Regions from separate parts of the Homo sapiens genome. Here regions 1, 2, 3, 4, 6 and 7 are each linked to region 5. The links are contacts of gene promoters, found by promoter capture Hi-C in blood cells and fetal thymus (Javierre and others, 2016). All regions are on one chromosome and are shown on one strand. The core of a region is centred on a gene start or on the middle of the fragment in contact, and the rest is flanking DNA. Distances in the headings are between cores, read along the strand shown. Region 1 holds the start of CDC6 (cell division cycle 6). Region 2 overlaps IGFBP4 (insulin like growth factor binding protein 4). Region 3 overlaps SMARCE1 (SWI/SNF related BAF chromatin remodeling complex subunit E1). Region 4 holds the start of TOP2A (DNA topoisomerase II alpha). Region 5 holds the start of EIF1 (eukaryotic translation initiation factor 1). Region 6 holds the start of IFI35 (interferon induced protein 35). Region 7 overlaps CCR7 (C-C motif chemokine receptor 7).

Evidence for each region. Contacts are between HindIII fragments. The CHiCAGO score rates a contact against its expected background, and 5 or more counts as called.
Region 1: the fragment with the promoter of CDC6 here is called in contact with the fragment with the promoter of EIF1 in region 5 in 4 of 17 cell types (naive B cells, activated CD4 T cells, total CD8 T cells and 1 more); the score reaches 8.2 in naive B cells.
Region 2: a contact is called between a fragment that was not itself captured here and the fragment with the promoter of EIF1 in region 5, in 1 of 17 cell types (endothelial precursors). The highest score is 5.3, in endothelial precursors.
Region 3: a contact is called between a fragment that was not itself captured here and the fragment with the promoter of EIF1 in region 5, in 1 of 17 cell types (naive CD8 T cells). The highest score is 5.7, in naive CD8 T cells.
Region 4: a contact is called between the fragment with the promoter of TOP2A here and the fragment with the promoter of EIF1 in region 5, in 10 of 17 cell types (fetal thymus, erythroblasts, total B cells and 7 more). The highest score is 11.6, in fetal thymus.
Region 6: the fragment with the promoter of IFI35 here is called in contact with the fragment with the promoter of EIF1 in region 5 in 1 of 17 cell types (fetal thymus); the score reaches 5.5 in fetal thymus.
Region 7: a fragment that was not itself captured here is called in contact with the fragment with the promoter of EIF1 in region 5 in 1 of 17 cell types (naive CD8 T cells); the score reaches 5.4 in naive CD8 T cells.

What each region holds. Positions count from the first base shown.
Region 1 is chr17:40,286,619-40,289,645 of GRCh38, reverse strand. It overlaps CDC6 (cell division cycle 6), which reads right to left and starts at 1,767. Exons shown (of 12, transcript NM_001254.4): 1 at 1,556-1,767; 2 at 48-238. The coding sequence starts at 225. RefSeq lists enhancers at 1,152-1,221, 1,252-1,431, 1,200-2,007. The HindIII fragment of the contact is 8,752 bases long and covers 1-3,027 here.
Region 2 is chr17:40,445,477-40,448,302 of GRCh38, reverse strand. The region is part of intron 1 of IGFBP4 (insulin like growth factor binding protein 4); the gene reads right to left. Among named protein-coding and RNA genes, the nearest start is that of IGFBP4, 3.4 kb to the right of the region's middle. The HindIII fragment of the contact is 3,027 bases long and covers 1-2,826 here.
Region 3 is chr17:40,624,704-40,627,664 of GRCh38, reverse strand. It overlaps SMARCE1 (SWI/SNF related BAF chromatin remodeling complex subunit E1), which reads left to right. Exons shown (of 11, transcript NM_003079.5): 11 at 1-2,703. Among named protein-coding and RNA genes, the nearest start is that of SMARCE1, 22 kb to the left of the region's middle. The HindIII fragment of the contact is 1,649 bases long and covers 426-2,074 here.
Region 4 is chr17:40,416,503-40,419,415 of GRCh38, reverse strand. TOP2A (DNA topoisomerase II alpha) reads left to right here and starts at 1,520. Exons shown (of 35, transcript NM_001067.4): 1 at 1,520-1,645; 2 at 2,521-2,676; 3 at 2,904-2,913. The coding sequence starts at 1,625. RefSeq lists enhancers at 1,525-1,614, 1,336-1,861. The HindIII fragment of the contact is 7,280 bases long and covers 1,245-2,913 here.
Region 5 is chr17:41,687,526-41,690,393 of GRCh38, reverse strand. It overlaps EIF1 (eukaryotic translation initiation factor 1), which reads right to left and starts at 1,509. Exons shown (of 4, transcript NM_005801.4): 1 at 1,325-1,509; 2 at 453-616; 3 at 205-306. The coding sequence starts at 1,355. RefSeq lists enhancers at 1-899, 825-914, 900-1,808 and a silencer at 1,295-1,684. The HindIII fragment of the contact is 2,180 bases long and covers 1-1,729 here.
Region 6 is chr17:43,005,512-43,008,296 of GRCh38, reverse strand. It overlaps IFI35 (interferon induced protein 35), which reads right to left and starts at 1,513. Exons shown (of 7, transcript NM_001330230.2): 1 at 1,329-1,513. The coding sequence starts at 1,349. RefSeq lists an enhancer at 1,344-1,653. The HindIII fragment of the contact is 11,688 bases long and covers 1-2,785 here.
Region 7 is chr17:40,561,302-40,564,062 of GRCh38, reverse strand. All of the region lies in intron 1 of CCR7 (C-C motif chemokine receptor 7), which reads left to right. Among named protein-coding and RNA genes, the nearest start is that of CCR7, 2.8 kb to the left of the region's middle. RefSeq lists an enhancer at 2,663-2,742. The HindIII fragment of the contact is 1,905 bases long and covers 416-2,320 here.

The DNA of each region.
Region 1 (3,027 bases), core at 518-3,017, 1.4 Mb after region 5:
AAAGGTCACGAGCTGCTAGTGAAAAAGTGATATAATGGATGGTTTACCCAGACGTTTCCTGGGGCTGAGAGGCAGGGCTTTTACACGAGGAGAACAGGTTACGGTTTGGACATTTGTTGGTTCTAGTTTGGCATCACTGGAGTTTTTAGCTTTGTTCAATGCCCGAGACAGCTTCCTTTTTGGAAAACTGATTGTAGCCTGTGCCTGGGATCGGGTTTGAGGCATGACGACAGCACAGCTAGATTAAAAAAAATAAGAGGACAACTAGTCAATATGTGAAAGTGAAGAGAAAATAACTAACATGGAATTTATTTATACTGATGATTAACACTTATTTCCTAATTATGTTATCACACTTATTTTAGCATTCACTTTTGCTTCACATCCAAATCTATGCAAGAACAGCTGACATTTGTTGTCTACCTACTACGTGGAAGGGCGCTGTTATAAACACTTTAGGTACCAACTCGTTTAACAACGATCTTAGGAGTAGGTACTATTATTAGCCTTTATTTTACACATGAGAAAACTGAGATAAACAGTGGCCCAAAGTCACAGAAAAACAGGAATGTAACCCCGGGCATCTGGTGCCAGAGCCCAAGTTCTTAACCAATTGAGCGATGCAATAACAAGTTACCTGAAATGGGCCGGGCGCGGTGGCCCACGCCTGTAATCCCAGCACTTTGGGAGGCTGAGGCGGGCGGATCACCTGAGGTCAGGAGTTCGAGACCAGCCTGACCAACATGGAGAAACCCCGTCTCTACTAAAAATACAAAAATTACGGCCAAACGCGGTGGCTCACGCCTGTAATCCCAACACTTTGGGAGGCCGAGACGGGCCGAGACCATCCTGGCTAACACGGTGAAACCCCGTCTCTACTAAAAATGCAAAAAATTAGCCGGGCGTGGTGGTGGGCGCCTGTAGTCCCAGCTACTCGGGAGGCTGAGGCAGGAGAATGGCATGAACCCGGGAGGCGGAGCTTGCAGTGAGCCGAGATCGCGCCACTGCACTCCAGCCTGGGAGACCGAGCGAGACTCCGTCTCAAAAAAAAAAAAAAAATTAGCCGGACGTGGTGGCGGGCGCCTGTAGTCCCAGCTACATGAAGAGGCTGAGGCAGGAGAATGGCTTGAACCCGGCAGGCAGAGGTTGCAGTGAGCCGAGATCGCACCACTGCACTACAGCCTGGGCGACAAGAGCGAGACTCCGTCTCAAAAAAAAAAAAAAGTTACATGAATTGATTTATATAGAACTTCTAGTTTCCTCCCTCCAGGCACGCGGGGTGTCTTTATCACCAGTTCAGCCCAGCACCCGCCACATTTAGTCTCTTCTATCCCAAGCCCTCACACTGCAGCTCAGTCTTCCCTCAGTTCTTTCCGCCCCTGCACTCAGTCCTCATTCTAGGCAGCTCTCAACGCACCCCAGAATATTTCCTTCCTACAACTTTCACCTCCTTCACACCACGCATAACTGCTAGAACTACCCCGAGGGCACCTGCCCTTTCCCTGATCCCGACCTCAGACCTCCAGCGAGCTCAGCTCTTTTCCCTTCACTTCACCTCAGGCCTCGCCGGAACCCGCAGCCTTCACCCAGCTCCGCTGCCTCACAGACCCCAGGCCTCCTCGAGCAATCCTCTTCTTTCCACCTCCTCAGTGCAGGATCCTTCTCACGTCTCTCACACGCAGCCTCTCGGACTCACCACCACAAGCCCCTGAACAAACTGCACAGCGGCAGCAGCAAACTCCAGCCGCGCTCGCGCCAAATCCGAATGGCCACAGCGTTCCCACCTCCCGCCAAAGCCCGGCCTCGATTCTGATTGGCTGTAGTCACAGAGCCTTTCGCCTTGGGCACCGCCTCTTTTTTTGCTACCAATCCAGTGGAAGAGTTACAGCCAATGAGAGAGCCCCAAGTCTTAGAGTCGCTGTGAGGCCACGACCACTGAACGGGGGAGGGAATCTACATCCGGGGCCTCGGTGGAAAGACGCGCGATTGCGGCAGGGCGACTCTGGGTAAAGCGGGCCGGCCCGCCGCAAAGCACGCTGGGAGGCGTAGTCTTTGCTGCCGCGCAGTCGCACTCTTCCTTCGACTGGAAGTGTCAAGATGTGGTTCCCCTTCTCACTGCCTAAAGTACCCATTTGCATCATCCTGATGGGCTAGATTTTCAGAACTGCTACATGATACCTACCGTTTTGGGTTCTGTGCGCCAGGTATGATGCTAGGCACTTTCCTTACCTCTCTAATGCTCAACCTCGCAAAGTACAAAGCAAACTTCTATACAAGGTTAGAGGTCACAGCATCTTGGTGACAGTGAAGAGCCTAGGATCCAGATCTCCTGATGGCTGAACTAGTGATTTTTATGGTAAAGTTCTACACACCTATATAAAGAAAAACTATGCTTCATCATAGTATCTCTTGATTTGTGCTTCAAAGGTGAGAAACAGAGCCAACTCTTTACTTTTATTTCGTTCAACCTAAGAATATTATGTTCTGTGCATCTTCTTACCATTAATCCACACATCATGGGGAGGGAATTATGACCCCTTAATTTTAAAATCTTTTATGGCGAAACACTAGGGTTTCAGGGCCAGGGAAGACAGCTATATAGAAGAGGCAAGCTGAGTTTTTAATGAAAAATATAAATTAGCGCAGTAATTTGAAGGCCAGCTTCCAAAGCCAATAATTCATCTAAGCCTCAGGTTCCTTTAGAGGCCAGAACCCAATTCTAGGTGATGGTAAACATTTATCTTTTACCCCTCAGTAACAAACAAAATAGAGCCATAAAGCCTAGAAAGAGGGAAGCAACAATATTACGATCATCAGTGAATTGGTACCTAGTTCATGAAGAGAGCCAATATTGAGTGCTTAAGTGTATGCCAGGGGCTGTGCTCAGTATTTTACCTACATCACCTTATTAATCTTCACAAGCACCCCCATGAACCTGGTGTTATTTCACTTTACAAATGAGGGAACTACAGTAGAGGGGAGTTGAGTAAACTTGCCCAAGGTCACACAACTAGTAAGTGGAAGAGC
Region 2 (2,826 bases), core at 94-2,593, 1.2 Mb after region 5:
TTTGTGGCGAAAGCCAGAGGATTTCCTCTTTCCTGTTGCCTGATTTTACCCTCACAATTTCTCCCCAACGCCAGCCCCTGGCCCTCGAGAGACACCTAGGCTATGAACTGAGTGGGCCCAGCCATCCCGACCAGAAGTTTCAGCTGTGATCCAGAGGGTCACCCACCTGTCCTGCTAGAAAGGTCTTTTCCCTCTTCCCCTAGACTCTAGCTGGAGAAGCCAAGACCGCTGGTGCTGGGTACCAGGCCCTTTCTCTGAGGTCTGGCTCAAGGGGTATCACCCCCAACAGCTGTGTCATGCTGCCAGCCTCAGAATAAAAAACAGATAAGGCAACTTGGCCTGTTCTTCCCATGTTGACAGCAGCAAAATGCACCAAAGGCCACCCCACCCCTCTCAACTCCTCTGAATGTTGCCCCAAATTTGCTCCCTCGTCCTACCGCTTCCCTAAGTCCCAGCATCAGCTTCTTCATCACCATCTTCCTCATCACTTCAATTTATTGAGCTCTTACCCGATGCCAGACGCCCCAACCCTGTGAGGCAGGTCCTGTTGCCCTCCCCACTTTAAAAATTAGGAAAATGAAGTAGACTGGGTGGAAGGGGAGGAGGAGAGACTTAGCTCTGCAGCACTCTGTCTTTAAGTGGAAAGACTCCTGATACCCGAGGCACCAATACTGCTAGCTTTGCCAGTACTAAATTAAAAATGGGAAGCGGCCATGCTCCTCCCTCCCCCTCCCCACAAGGCACAGAATTTCTGGGAATGCCCTTGTTCCCATGACATAACTGGATTCCCAGTACTGAAGTAGGGGGGCAGAATTTGCTGCATTGACTAAAAATTAACCCAGCCTGCCTGTTCCCTAACCCTGTCCCAAAGGGACTGAGAGCCCAGCTTAGGAACTCCCCGTCCAAACGCTGATCTTTCCGCTGTCCACTCCCCCAGATTCCATGAGTCTAGGATCAGTACCAGGATGCAGAGGTGTGGACTTTTGATGCACACGCCCCGCCTCATCTCTGGTGGCCTCAGTGGTGTTAAGCCACAACCTGGCCAGCACATGGAAAGCTGTGACAGGAGGGCAGGCAGGGGTGGCTGGAGACGGAAAGGGGAGATCTGCCCCTGGGGCAAACAGGAGGCAGCTGGACCATAGCAGCCAAAGAAGGGGGCATGCCAAGTGGCCACCCTCCCCCAGCCACCTGCTGACACTCAGCCCCAAAAGGAAAAGGCAGAAAAAATAGACAGGTACCCTCGACCAAGCTATTCGCGGGCCAGTGGGCCCAAACCTTGGGACCTAAAGCAGACAGTGGCCTACTGACTGTGTAAGGCTAAAAAGATGGGTGGGTAGGGGCTTGGTCGTCTTATCTCACCCACAGACCCTGCAGGGCTGCAGCAGAACTCTAGAGAGTGCCTTTTACATGGTGCCATGTGGCCCAGGTCACAGCAAGGGATTACTTCTATGATGACTAGGAGGTGTGGGAGGGCACGGGCATAGCTTGCTCAGTAGGTACCTCCAGGCTTCCCTCGTCTCTCTCCAGATACCTGCATCCATTGCATGGCTGGAGGCTGGAGGACAAGGCAAGGAGGAAAGGGGGAGGGGCATTACAGACCTTGGCTGTGTCATCCAAAGGGGACCTAAAGCCACCCCATTCCAAGACACCGTTTTTTGTTTTTTTTGTTTATTTGTTTTGTTTTCTTTAGACAGAGTCTCGCTCTGTCACCCAGGCTAAAGCGCAGTGGCACAATCTTGGTTCACTGCAACCTCCACCTCCCGGGTTCAAGTGATTCTCCTGCCTCAGCCTCCCAAGTAGCTGGGACTACAGGCACGCACCACCATGCCCAGCTAATTTTTGTATTTTTAGTAGAGACGAGGTTTCACCATGTTGACCAGGCTGGTCTCAAACTCCTGACCTCAGGTGATTCACCCTCCTCAGCCTCCCAAAATACTGAGATTACAGGTGTGAGCCACTGCACCCGGCCTACTTTTTTTTTTTTTTTTTTTTACGAAATAGAGTCGCCCAGGCTGGAGTGCAATCACGTGATCATAGCTCATTGTAACCTTGAACTTCTCATCTCAGACTCCCAAATACCTGGGACTACAGGCATGAGCCACTGCAGTTGCCTATTTTTTTTTTTTTTTTTTTGTAGAGACGGGGGTCTGGCTATATTGCTCAGGCTGGTCTCGAACTCCTGGCCTCAAGCAATCCTCCCAAAGTGCTGGGATTACAAGCATGAACCTCCACACCCAGCCCCTAGATATTCCTGGAGGCCAGTTTGCATTATATCCAGAGGACAACCACAAAATTCTCATGCCATGCCCTCCCCAAACCCCTAGGGGATCTTATTTTCCTCCACTACAGGATGGAGTATTCCTACCCAACCAGAGGATGAGGTATTCCTACCCAGCCCTTTGAGGGCTCTTCTGTCTTGCATTCAAAGTGCTGAGAGAGGAGGAGGCTACCAGCCATCCTTATCTGGTGCCAGATACCCTCTGGCTGGTGGAGGATGGAGATTCAAAGGGAACGTGACTCTGTTGTACCCCGCGAACCCAAGGGCTCGGCCCTTGCTCCCTCCCAGTCTCAGTACCCCTCCTCTACCATTGCCACTGGCATCTCTGCCCCAAGATTAGCGACTTTCTCCCCCAGGACCCCCCTTCCCAGATATGCTGGGTGCCAGGCTGGCATTTCTCCTAGAATGTTTTCTGCTGACCCATCTCTCCCTACCCAGGGGCAGGAAGGGCAGAGAGGCCCGAGGCCCAGACCCCTGGAGTCCACCTCCTTCCTGTTTTCCCTGCATCCTGCTCTCCTCGGCTGACAAGCTGCAGAGGATTGAGGAAG
Region 3 (2,961 bases), core at 1-2,500, 1.1 Mb after region 5:
CATCCAGTTTTTTTCTGTAATGCAGTGACAGTGTGGAATGACCACTCAGCCATTATAAATTTGTGTACTCAGGGCCCTTGTCTCACCCAACTATCTCTATAAACTGCTGCAGTAGCTTATTTGTACAAGACACTTGTGAAAATCAGTTTTCTTACATTATAGTCATTGTCACATATGGAAGTTGGTCTTTGATTCCAAAAGTAAAGGGAATATGTTTCTACATTAACAGGAATATGGAGAAATCTGTAACGTTTGAATTATCTTTGAAAGAATGGCTAAATGATAAATGTTAAGTCCTGTGCCTATATGGAGAGGACTCTGTACCAGCATGAGTTAATTTAAGTGGATTCACTGCTATTCAGTTCATAGCACATTAGTGACTAGGAATGTGTGTTCAGCCTCCTGAGAGAGGAGGGGAGGAAGCTTGATACTGGGTGGAAACAACTCTTGACATCTGTTTCCTTGTGTGTCAAAGAACGAATTTGTATCAAATAGATCTGTTTTGAGCTTTGGCCATTATTTGGCTAAGAACTTCAGCCATCTCATCTCAGACAAATTGGACAGCCTCTTTGATACATTTTCTAGTAGTCAAAATGGGGCAGATGTAGTTTAATATGGGTGGAAAACTGCCCCAGCAAGATACCAGGTTATTTACTGTGGTATCGAAAGCTCTAAGAGAATGGAAGTGGTTCTTTTGCCCGGCTGGAAATAGCAGTGGGAAGACAAGTCTATCCAGACCAAGCCTGTCCATACAACACTGGCAATCAGTTGATGAGGGAATTAAGTCAGATGGGAGACGTCTCAATCTGTCGCCCAGGTTGGAGTGCAGTGGTGGCGATCTCAGCTCACTGCAACCTCCACCTCCCAGGTTCAAGCAATTCTCTCTGCCTCAGCCTCTAGAGCAGCTGGGATTACAGGCTCTCGCCACCATGCCCGGTTAATTTTTGTATTTTTTAGTAGAGATGGGGTTTCACCATGTTAGCCAGGCTGATCTTGAACTCGTGACCTCAGGTGATCCGCCTGCCTCAGTCTCCCAAAGTGCTGGGATTACAGGCGTGAGCCACTGTGCCCGGCCTCAGTTGGGATTTGACAGCTCTGAACCTCAGCAGGGGAAGATTGATGTAAAAATCCACTTGGTCAGAGTGATATATGTAGACTTGATGTTTGAGATGGTTCTCAGTTTAGAGAATGTGGGATATGGTAGAGGTCTTTGTTTTTTTCCCATGTCCCAAAAGGTGCTGGGCAAGTAGCTTGAACTCGAGCCTGTTTTAATTATAAAATAGATCAAACTGCTCTTTCTTGGTGCCCTTACTGCTCCTTGATTTTTAGTGCATTTATTTTGAGTATGAATGCATAAAGTCTGAGGGCCTAAATTTTGTTAATTTTTTTTAACAAATGGGAGAGGGGAATCCTCGATAGTCACCCAATTTTCCTTTTTTTTTGAGACAGTCTGACTGTTGCCCAGGCTGGAGTGTAATGGCGCCATCTCGGCTCACTGCAACATCCAGCTCCTGGGTTTCAGCAATTCTCCTGCCTCAGCCTCCTGAGTAGCTGGGATTACAGGCGCCCGCCACCACGCCCGGCTAATTTTTGTATTTTTAGTAGAGACAGGATTTTGCCATGTTTGCCAGCCTGGTCTCGAACTCTTGACCTCCTGATCCACCCTCCTCTGCCTCCCAAAGTGCTGGGATTACAGGCGTGAGCCACCGCGCCCAGCCCCATAGTCCCCCAATTTTCTAACAGTTTTAAATTCTGTAACTTCTCCTGTCTGTAAACAAGGCTGTCTTTTCAAATGGCTCTCCTACAGGATGTGATAATTATCTATTCTATAAAGCCGAGGTTTGGAGAGGTAAATAGCTATTTCACATTAACACAATAATGTCAATGCCCTATGGAAAAGATAAAATACTTGGACTATATTTTAAAGGGGAATCTGGGGTCATGCATATTGAAGTTTAACTAGATCCCTCCAGATTTTTGGTTTTGATCCTACACATTTAGATACTAGTTTTGGATTTTAGACAGTTGGTGCTGACAGTGTGAAACTCCTATTGCCTGCAGTTAAATTGAAGCTTTGGTTTCTCGTGAACAGGCAGTGAAGCTGGTATTATACTTTAAGTCCTCATTTCAGAAATAGTTTCCCTCCACCCCCAAGCACTACCACACATGGTCTCCCCACCTGGTTTCAGCTAGTGCATTAGTTTTATCTTGTTTTTTACCGCTGGGCAAACCTTGCTGGAACAACAACTGACTTCATGATTTGCACATTTGGAGGGCTTAACGTCTTTGCAAATGAAAAATCCACTGTACAATAACAAGCTCAAAGGAACTCGGAGCCTTTTTAGAAGAAATCGTGCTGAATTATAATGTGGCTTACTGCAATAATGTTTCTTTGATCAGGATGGAAAGGAAAATACTGAGTTTAGCAGAAAACGATGTCTAAATGTATTTGTAATGATACAATTGTTTATAAATGTTTTACTATTAGGTTGAACCATAAGAAATTGCCAGTGTACAATTTCATCTACAAAATGACTGGCTTAACCTAAATTCTGCATTTTATACTCCAAGAATAAGCTCTTCGTGGCAGCTTTCTAAGTGTGAAATGATGGAACTTTCTATTTGCCAGAATGACCTACACTTCTCTAATAGTTTATCTCATATTGTTAGCCAAACGCTGATTAAAATGCAAATTTCAAACTATTGAGTTTTTAAGAGCCTGATGTTTAAAATACATTTTGGTGAACTTTTAGTTAAACTAGCTCATTTATGTTCACACATTTTCTCATTTAGCACCAGAAAGTTTCTTACAGCTCTTTTGCATGCATTCAGGAGTCAAAAGTATTATATGGGGAGGGGAAATTCCCAAATGATAAATACTCTTTACATAAAACTGAGACAGTAGCTGCAGATAATGGCTCCCTTTGAGGAGCCACTTGAAAGAAAGGAAAGGCTGCCTTA
Region 4 (2,913 bases), core at 271-2,770, 1.3 Mb after region 5:
TGTAATCCCAGCACTTTGAGAGGCTGAGGCGGGCAGATCACTTGAGGTCAGAAGTTTGAAACCAACCTGGTCAACATGGCAAAACCCTGTCTCTACTAAAAAAATACAAAAATTAGCCAGGCGTGGTGGCAGGCGCCTGTAATTCTAGCTACACGGGAGGCTGAGGCAGGAGAATCGCTTGAACCCGCGAGGTGAAGGTTGCAGTGAGCCTAGATCGCGCCATTGCACTCCAGCCTGGGCGACAGAGTGAGATTCCATCTCAAAAAAAAAAAAAGCAACAAAAAAACAAGCAAACAAAAAAGCTTCAGTCTTGGCATTTCCTTGTCAAATTGGAACAGCTGTTCTGGACTGCAGGGTTCACGGAGGTGAGCAAAAGTAGCCAGTCGGAGGGTATCTGGCCAGCTGGCTGCGGAAAAGGTTTCAGCCCCGGACGGCTGAGCCCACCCTCAGCTCAAGAGGCTACCACCACAAGTTATCCCTTTCGATTTACCAGTTGCAGTCCAGCGCTGCTCTACTGGGGACCTGAATGCTGCCCTCCATTTTGCAAAGCCTTTCTACATCCTTCCACTATATGGAACCCCCAAACCACAACTGTGGCACTTTTATTTTAATTATTTTTATTATTTATTTATTTATGTATTTATCTCTTGAGGTGGCCTCGCTCTGTCACTCAGGCTGGAGTGCAGTGGAGCAATCACGGTTCAAGGCGCCTCGATCTCCGATCCCCGGGGCTCAAGCGATCCTCCCTCCTCAGCCTCCGGAGCTGGAGTTACAGGTGTGCGATGCCTCGCCTGGCTATTTTTTTTCCTTTTTGGGTAGAGACGGGGTCTCGCTATGTTGCCCAGGCTGGTCTCCAACTCCTAGGCTCCAGCGATCCTCCCGCCTCGGCCTCCCAATGTGCTGCGAATACAGACTCCAGCCACCGCACACAGCCTACTTTTATTTCTTTGAAAAATGAATTCGAGGGTAAAGGGGGCGGGGTTGAGGCAGATGCCAGAATCTGTTCGCTTCAACCAAGCAGCCAGGCTGCCTGTCCAGAAAGCCGGCACTCAGTTTCCTCAGGAAAACGAAGCTAAGGCTCCCATTCCCCTCGCTAACAACGTCAGAACAGAGGACAGTTTTTAGATTTCAGGGATCTTAAATAGATTGGCAGTTCCTGGAGAATAAACATCCTTTGCTTTTCTCCTGCACACTTTTGCCTCAGGCCACCCCTTCCCGCTTCCAAAGCCCATCTCTTCCAAGCTTTCCGCACGAGAAAACAAGTGAGCCCTTCTCATTGGCCAGATTCCCTGTCAATCTCTCCGCTATGACGCCGAGTGGTGCCTTTTGAAGCCTCTCTAGTCCCGCCTCCCTAACCTGATTGGTTTATTCAAACAAACCCCGGCCAACTCAGCCGTTCATAGGTGGATATAAAAGGCAAGCTACGATTGGTTCTTCTGGACGGAGACGGTGAGAGCGAGTCAGGGATTGGCTGGTCTGCTTCGGGCGGGCTAAAGGAAGGTTCAAGTGGAGCTCTCCTAACCGACGCGCGTCTGTGGAGAAGCGGCTTGGTCGGGGGTGGTCTCGTGGGGTCCTGCCTGTTTAGTCGCTTTCAGGGTTCTTGAGCCCCTTCACGACCGTCACCATGGAAGTGTCACCATTGCAGGTACGGCTCGCGGGGGGGACTGGCGGTGGAGCCTCCGCGCGGCCCGGGCATCTCTCTGGCCGCCCGTGACGGGTGAAGCTCTGGGGCTGCGGTCAGGCCGGCGACCGGCTTGGGAGCCCATATTCTCCATTCCCGGTTCCGGGGTGATCGTGGAGAGGCGGAAGCCCCTTCTGGTGCTAGTAGTGAAGTATGACCCGGCTTCCAGGGTGTCGTGCGTTGTTGCCCTGTTTCTAGGGGCAGGAGTCCGTTGGTCCCGTAGTGGATCCATGTTACAGCGGCCCGGGTGCGACGTTATTGAGTCGCGCGTACAGATGCTTTCCCCTCCTGCCCGCTGCTTGAAAACGGTCTTGAATGTCCCCGATCTTGGAAAGGGCAGAGCCTAGCACAGTGTTTCTCTGGAGCAGCTGGCCAGCTTACAAAAGCGCCCCCTTCCTGAGTTCACAACGCTCAGGTGGCCAAGGGATTGAACGGATAGCCGCCCAAACTGCTGCTGCCGAACTAGAATTATTTACGGTGTCGTGTGCTCGGGACACCGTAAATAATTTATAATAATAGGCACTCGGTAAATAATGTATGCAGGAACTGAAAGAAGTGGGTGTATTTTATTGATGACATCTACCATGTTGCTCAAGAAAAGAGGTTTCCAGACAGACCCACTTGGTGAGATAATATGTGTCTGTTTAACCTGACACCTGGGGACCTGGCCGCAGCGAATTTAAATTGTCCTATTTGTACAAAACTGGCAACTCCACCACTGCCTACTAACAGATTGCAATGCATGTTGACATCTCACTATGGTAGGCATTTTGTTCCTAGTTTAGGGTAAACTTATGATTAAAAATTCCCTTCTTTCTCTCTTTTTTTTTAATTGCTAGCCTGTAAATGAAAATATGCAAGTCAACAAAATAAAGAAAAATGAAGATGCTAAGAAAAGACTGTCTGTTGAAAGAATCTATCAAAAGAAAACACAATTGGAACATATTTTGCTCCGCCCAGACACCTACATTGGTTCTGTGGAATTAGTGACCCAGGTAAAATCAAGCTCATCAAAGGCAGTTAACCTAGTAGTTGAAATGGATACTCTTCTTTCTGTACCTTTCATGTACTGAGTGTGACCTTTCTGTATCTCTCATGTACTGAGTGTCACTGGAACTGGCCTAAATATGGTAATACTTAATATGAACACTTTATGGTAATCATGATAACAGAACAATGAATATAGAATAAAAATAACAGTATTTCTTTGCCTTATTTCTAGCAAATGTGGG
Region 5 (2,868 bases), core at 260-2,759:
AGATCCACAGAAACAGTAAACCAAAGGTAGACAAGTCCCTTCTGCTTTTTCCTATAAAACAGAAATAAGTCTATGTACTTTAAAACCCAACTGAGGTTTTGCTCAGCCTTACAAAGCCAACTTTTATGTCCCCAGCAGAAGCTAACAGACAGGATCTGAGATTTGCCAGCAGAGAGGCACAAATCAAGTAGTGACTGAACTCACCTCTACGAGGAACTGGCATATGTTCTTGCGTTGGTCACCCTGTAGCTGAATTACTTCTCCATATTCCGGATGCTCAATTACAGTACCATTGCAGGCAAACTTCTGCAAGCACAAAGGAAAACGAATTAGGCCTAGCAAGAGCATGAACGCATTTATCACCCCTTCCGCTAACAATACATACAACACAGCTGGCACCCCCTTGTGGACAAATCCATTATGACTTTCCCAAAATCTCACTGAAGACCTACTTTCTTAAACGCCTTCACTAGTTTCTTTTTATCGTAATCATCAGCGATCCCTTGGACAGTAGTAAGGGTCTTCCTGCCGTTTCTCTGTTGAATTCTTATATGGATATAATCCTCAGTGCCAGCAGGAAGCAGGTCATCACCCTTACTTGCATCAGCAAAGGGGTCTGAAAAAAAAGGTTAAGCTCGTTCAGAGCTGTCAAAGATAGGATGCCACTGCCATCCCCTCGGTCCCCAGGTGTTTTGCGCGTGCAGAAAACAACACTGAAATCGTCAGGGCTTGGGCCAGGCCGAATGTGTCCTTTGCTGGCTCTCCCCGAGCAGGTCAGTCCGGGACGGCCAGCTTCCCCAGGCTCGGGGAACGCCCGGGCCTCCCGCCCTCCCTGGGAAGCCGATCACATGTCGGGGGAGTCCGGGCTGCCAGGCGGTGCCCCACCCAGCTGATGCAACCCGCCGGAACCCGAGCTCCCGAGGCGGGGCTAAGCCTCCCACCCCCATTGGTGCACCCGCTTGCCACTTAGGGCTGGCACCGCCTTTCCCTCCGGATCCGTGACAACGGGTGGTGACGTAACGGACGTGACGCAATGGTGACGGGAGGGGCGGGTGTGGCCCGAGGAGGCCCAGGAGCCATTAGTAAATGCGCCACTGAGACGCCGGGCCCGCCCAAGGGCTGACCTACCGCCTGCTCCTTCCGGTCGCGCTCAGGGTCCGACCCCGGGGCCCAGGCCTTGATCCCGCTGCCCTGCGACCCTGGTCAAGTTTCCCCTGCCCGAGCTTACGAAGGCCCGGAGCGCTTGGCAACTTCCCGGAACACGTCTCCGGGCCCGGAAGGCCCCGCTGCCCCACCCGGGCCCGCGACCTTTCCCATAGCTTACCGAAAGAGTGGAGGTTCTGGATAGCGGACATACGATACGATTCCTTTTCCTCGGTGGAAACGGCCTGCGGAAGGCGGCGGCGGCGGTGGCGGGAGAAGGCGGGCAGGGGGGAACGGAACGTCGGGAAGCGAGGGGGCTCAAGGGGGAGGCTGCTGAATCCTCGGCGGCGGCTCAGTGACTGGGGCAGAGGGGCGGTGCCTGTGTTTAGTTATATAGCCGCGCCTCTGACGCCAGCGCGCTGCCCTCACGTCCTGACCCCACCCACAGCGTCGTGCCCCAAGCGCCCAGGCGGCGCCGCTTCCAATTGGTTTGGAGGCGGGGACATGGGATGGCGCTTGCGCAGGAAGTCTGCGGCAGGAGGGCGTCCTCTTGACTCTAGGAGAGCTGGGAGGGGGAGGGAAAGCTTGATCTGTCTCGGAGCCTGCGCAGTGCGAGTGGACGGTGTCTGGGTGCCGAGAATACCGGCCCAGGTTTCGAGCGCGCCTACGCACTGTGTCCTTTGGTACGTTCCACCTTCTTGACCCTGTTGCATCCCTGTCTTCTCGAAAAGGGGAGTTTCATATGGTAAATGAACACTCCTTAGAGAGGATTTAGATGATGAGCCTCCCAAACACGAGAAATCCCCGTTGTGTCAAACCCACCTACCTACCCACCCTACTACCCACGGAGTCACAGCGGGATTTAGGGCGGCACTTTGATTAATCAACATACAATAATATAATCAAAACGGTAACCGCATAATTTAGATTGCCATTTAGATTTATTCTAAAGTGGGTTAATCCGATCTAAAATTTTCATTTAGATTAGATTAATCCATCTAAGGAAAAAGTGTGCCCAGCTCATTGGCATGAGTTCAAGGTATAGTAACTGGTTCTGGGCCCCCCCGAGAATAATTCTGGCACCAGAGGGCGTCCTTCATGTGGCACAGCTTGTGTGGAGTAGAGCCTTCCTAGAGTTTAGATGAAATATTTCCTTCAAAACAGTCAACCTTTCTTGCTTTCAGTTTATTTATTTCAACACTCAGTTGTAGGGGTAAGTAGAGTGGTGAAAAGAGACCAGGAATTTTAGACTCAAAGGCCTCCGGGGATAGGCAGGTAAGTAGGATCAAGGAGTGCAAACAGCCAAGTGTGATGTAATGGGGTGGACTGGGGGCTGGAGTAAGAACTACGGGCTGCAGTGGCCGCTCACCTCCAGCCCATTGTGCTAGATCTTTTTCAAGAGTGCCAGGAAATCCAGGTGTTTACATAAAATCTCTTGATTTTTAAATATTGCCAATAAATTGATTTTTTTTTTGAGACAGAGTCTCACTTTGTCGCCGAGGCTGGAGTGCAGTGGCACTGTGTCGGCTCACTGTAACCTCCGTCTCCTGGGTTCAAGCAATTCTTCTGCCTCAGCCTCCCGAGTAGTTGGGGTTACAGGCATCCACCACCACGCCCGGCTAGTTTTTTAAAAATATTTTTAGTAGAGATGGGTTTTCACCATGTTGGCCAGGCTGGTCTTGAACTCCTGACCTCAGGTGATCTGCCTGCCTCGGCCTTCCAAAG
Region 6 (2,785 bases), core at 264-2,763, 1.3 Mb before region 5:
TTTGGGAGCTTGAGGGGGGCAGATCACGAGGTCAGAAGATCAAGACCATCCCGGCTAACACGGTGAAACTCCATTTCTACTAAAAATACAAAAAATTAGCCAGGCATGGTGGAACGTGCCTGTACTCCCAGTTACTTGGGAGGCTGAGGCAGGAGAATCGCTTGAACCCGGGAGGCAGAGGTTGCAGTGAGCCGAGATCATGCCACTGTACTCCAGCCTAGGAGACAGAGTGAGACTCCGTCTCAAAAAAAAAAAAAAAAAAGGGATTGTCCTTGGGGAACTGGGGTTCTGAAAAGGTTGGCAATAATAATATTAAGAAGAAACACATATTGAATGCTCTGTAGGTGCTAAGCAGTGGGATAAGTTTTTACCGTGTTAATCTATGGATTACCTAGTGTGATTCTTAAAGTATAATTCTTATAGTATATATATATATATATATATATATAAATTTTGTGTGTGTGTGTGTGTGAGAGACAGTCTCCCTCTGTTGCCCAGAGTGGAGCATAGTGGTACAATCTCGGCTCACTGCAACCTCTGCCTCCCAGGTTCAAGCAATTCTCCCGCCTCAGTCTCCCTAGTAGCTGGGATTACAGGTGTGTGCCACCATGCCTGGCTAATTTTTGTGTTTTTAGTAGAGATGGGGTTTTGCTATGTTGGCCAGGCTGGTCTCGAACTCCTAACCTCAAGTGATCCACACGCCTCAGCCTCCCAAAGTGCTGGCTGGGATTACAGGTGTGAGCCAACACACCCAGCCTAATTCCTTTAGTTTAATTTTTTTTTTTTTTTTTTTAGACAGAGTCTCGCTGTGTCACCCAGGCTGGAGTGCAGTGATGCAATCTCGGCTCACTGCAACCTCCGCCTCCCAGGTTCAAGTGATTCTCCTGTCTCAGCCTCCCAAGTAGCTGGGATTACAGGCGCACACCACCACACACAGCTAATTTTTTGTATTTTAGTAGAGACGGATTTTCACTGTATTGCCAAGGCCTCCCAAAGTGCTAGGATGACAGGCGTGAGACACCACGCCCGGCCTAGAACAATTGTTATTTGGGTCACAGAACCCGCTGAGTATCTGATGGAAACTACAGATTCTCTCTCCAGAGAAGTGTACACACACAGGATTTAATGAGCTCCTCCTGTCTGAGGCAATAGGTTAGGGAACCAACTCTTGCAGAGGCAACCCCAGCCCTGTGTTTCTCCCCAGCCCTTCAGCAGGTCTGAGATGGGCAGGGTGAGGCTTGGCTGCCAGGCCCTGAGATATCTGCAGGTTCCTAGCCAAGAGGATTACTCCTGTTTCCCCACTTCCCAACTCCCTCCTCCTCACTTACGGCATCCAGTGGGGCTGACATGGGTCTCGGGTCTGTTTGGCAAGAGCTGAGGCTTCAGAGCTGGGCACAGTGGCAGAATTCACAGCAACTGAACTCTTGTTTGTACCCCCCAAAGGGCTGTGGTCTCTCTCAGCCCCAGCAAGACCCGAAATACACCTCAGGAGGCTCTGCTCGCAGGCTGTTTGCTTCCACTTTCATTTCCGTGAAATCCCTGCCTTCTGGCGCTCACATGCCGCCCCCTGCCGAGGCTTCCCCACCCCTGGGAGGAGCCTTCTTGGTCAGCAAAGTCGACTTCACTCAGCCAGGCTGCCTCAAGGAAAGCCACCTCACCCCAACTGCAAACTGGCCCCCATCAACCATTCCCAGCAATCTCCGACAAGCCCATTGGTAGACCCTGCTTTGTCAATGGATTATTTCCCTAGAGCCTAGAATAATGCTGGGCACATTGAACATTGATAAAATAATTGCTGAATGAGCTGGGTGCGGCGGCTCACACCTGTAATCCCAGCATTCTGGGAGGCCCAGGCGGGCAGATCACCTGAGGTCAGGAGTTAGAGACCAGCCTGGCCAACATGGTGAAACCCCACCTTTACTAAAAAAATACAAAAATTAGCCGGGCGTGGAGGTGCATTCCTGTAATCCCAGCTACTTGGGAGGCCGAGGCAGGAGAATAGCTGGAACCCGGAGGCAGAGGTTGCATTGAGCTGAGATGGTGCCATTGCACTCCAGCCTGGGTGACAAGAGTGAAACTCCATCTCAAAAAATAAATAAAACAATAATTGCTGAATGAATGAGAAACACAGTCAGGACAGATAACGCCCATAGTTCAAGTTCACAAAACTGCCGGGTGCGGTGGCTCACACCTGTAATCCCAGCACTTTGGGAGGCCCAGGTGGGCAGATCACCTGAGATCCCAAGTTAGACACCAGCCTGGCCAACGTGGTGAAACCCCGTCTTTACTAAAAAAATACAAAAATTATCCGGGTGTGGTGGTGTATTCCTGTAATCCCAGCTACTTGGGAGGCCGAGGCAGGAGAATAGCTGGAACCTGGGAGGCAGAGGTTGCATTGAGCCAAGATCGCGCTGTTGCACTCCAGCCTGAGTGACAAGAGCGAAACTCCATCTCAAAAAATAATAATTGCTGAATGAATGAGAAACACAATCAGGACAGATAAAGTCCACAGTTCAAGTTCACAAAACTGCCAGGCGCAGTGGCTCATGCCTTGTAATCCCAGCACTTTGGGAGGTCCAGGCGGGTGGATCACGAGACCATCCTGGCCACCATGGTGAAACCCTGTCCCTACTAAAATACAAAAAATTAGCCGGGCCGGATCACACCACTGCACTCCAGCCTGGGCAACAGAGTGAGATTCTGACTAAAAAAAAAAAAAAAGTGCCAATCCCAGCAGCTGGGCCCACTGGTAACATGTGCCTATAGTTCCAGCAGGTTGAGGCAG
Region 7 (2,761 bases), core at 119-2,618, 1.1 Mb after region 5:
AAGACCCTGCTCCAGCCTTTCATACTGGCCTCCAGGAAGGAAACCAAGCAGTGCCCAGTGGTGTGCTACTGGGCATTTGAAAAGCAGCTCCCCGGGGTGGAGCACTGGTAGCTGACTCCAGGGTGGAGGGAAAGTCCTGAATTTGTAGTGCTTGCCAATTTCCATGGTGTAAATTCTCCCACCCTGGCTGATTGATTTCAAGCCATCTACATGACTGAACAGGGGGTTGGGAAGATGTGCAGAGTGTCTTACCCCAGACTAGGTTTAGGGGTGCTAGACTCCTAGGCTTTGATGCAGGGAGAGAGGGTAATCTCTGGTCCAGGAAGAAGGGATATTCTTGCCACTTCACTCAACTTGAGAGAGCCCCAACGGTCAAACCCGAAATACTGGTAGGAGGGGAAGCCGCTGACAAGCTTTACTCAAAACGGGCTCTCTGGGCCGTTGATGGGGTGGGTGGGCCTTGGAGGATCTGTTGTTCTGCTCTTCATCTGCCCAGCAAGGAGCAAGAGGTGGGTGAGGAGGGAGGGTTTCTGTTACACAAAATGAAAACTCCCAAGCAGGGCTGAGCTGGCCTTTTTCACGGTTTGAATGAGCAGCTCTGAGGCACCCTCCCCACCTTCGAGCAATGAGACCGAAGATCTTTCATAATTCTCAAAAGCAAAGCAAGGAAAAAATGAACCCATGAGAGATGTGTGCCTCACAGCTCGGACATAAATGGTGGCAAAGGGGGATGCTGAAGCTAATTCAGGGCCAGTTTCTTGCCTGCCAGAAACTTGGCTGGGGAGGAGAGGAACGCTGCAGCCTGGGGTCGCTGTTGGAAAAAATCTCTCCTCTTTGCTTCGGACATTCAGGCAACTCTCATTGTTTGAGGGATTCAGGGATGACCAGTCTGGTGGGGAGAGTGACACATATGTCACAAAGCCACTGCAACAGAATAAGATACAGCATTGACCAGGGCAAGGGCAAGACAAGAAGGGAATAGTGAACCTGGGTCAGAGAGGTATTTAAGGTGGGTTTTCAAGGGTGTGTAGGAGTTGTCAAGCCCAACAAGGAGCTGCAATGGGCCCAGGATGTGGCAGGAATGGCAAACTCCATTGCCATCAGAGGCCGACAAGGTAATAGAGGGAATGGGCATAAGGTGCAGGAAGTGGAGGGGAGTAGAGTGACCCAGAGGGTGCATGCCCCACCTAAAGGCATTCAAATCTATTATTTCAAAAACTCCATGCTGACAAGCAGAGTGTCCTGGGGACTAAGGCTGCAGCCGTGTAGATGGTCAGCTGAGACAACAGTAACAGAGACAAGAAAGAAGCAAGCGGAGGGGAGGGTGGAGTAGCTGGCCATGCCAAGGAGGAAGATGAGGAGGAAGGACGCAGGCACAGGAGACCCAATCCTTAAAACGTGGTACGGCATCCCTAAGGAATTTGAACTTTATCCTGAAAACAATGGGGACCCATCAAAGATTTTTATTTTTCAAGTAGGTGAATTAAAGGATGAGATTTGTGTTTTGGAAGGAGTTCTGTGGCAGCAAAGAGGCAGCAAAGCCCGTGTCAGAACAGAGGTGGGGCCGGCTCTTTTGGGGGCCGGGATGTTGGGGGATGGAAGCAGGAAGCACTGGTGGCCAGTGGGGCATGGGGAGCAAAGATTCCCCTCATGCTCCGTGGAGCGTCCTAGATGCAGCAGGCTCATCAGAAACACAGCCTGATGCAGTAGCCAGAGCCCAAACCTTGCTATCCTGTTCAAATCTCAGGTCCCTCTCTTAGCAGCTGTGTGGCCCCAGGCATTTGGCTTAATCTCTCTGGGCCTCTATTTTCTGGAATCTAAGATGAGGATCACCAGGGTAGCTCATGAGATGTTATGAGGGAGAGACACATACAGACCCAGTGGCCGCACAGAAGGATGGTTAGGAGTGTGGTTGCTGGAGTTGGAGGGTTTCAAAGCCTGCTCCCCTGCTGGCCATTGTGTGACTCTGAGAAAGTTACTTGCTGTGTTTCAGTTTCTCATTGGTAAATGGGGATAATAGTAGCGCCTACCTCATGGGGCTTTTGAGAGGATGAAATGAGACCATACATGCAGACAGTGTGGCACGCAGTGAGAGCTCAGTGAATATGAATTATCTCATTGGATACAGCAGTTGATAACATAGAAAATGCAAGGTCTACCAGGCTCTCACCCATCCCTGCCTACTGTCTGAAAGTGGATTCCCCAGATCTCTAGACCTCTCACCACCTCCCTGCTTCTCCTCTGCCTCCCTTATCCAAAAAAAAAGAGAGAGAGAGAAAAGTTGTGTTGGCAGGTGAGGAAGTTCAAAGAGGAAAAAGCTTGGGGTCGCTCTTGGGGCGAGCTGATTGGGCAACTGTGATTTCCTGGGCAGTCTGGAGGACCTGGAAAAATGTGGGGATGGAAGTTCATGGTTTGGAGATGGGGGCAGCCAGCCAATAATTTTCTTTCCTGGATGGGCAGTCTCTCATGTTGGGGGCTCCGGTTGGAGTTCTAGGGAATTTTCATGATGATCATTACTGAAAACTCAAGAACTCAGAAAACACCCAACATCTAGGTCAACCACTCCTTAGCCCCAGAGATTCCCAACTTCATTGGTCTCACTGAAGCTGCTGCCCAAGACCAGTTTCTTTATGACTTTGTAACAGACAGGGATGATCTGACTCAAGGCCACTGACCAGGCTCCCTTTTGCCACATACAAGAGTTCCCCTAAGTTTCCCTGTGATGTTTCTTGAAAGCCACCTGTTTTGGACCTACAAGACC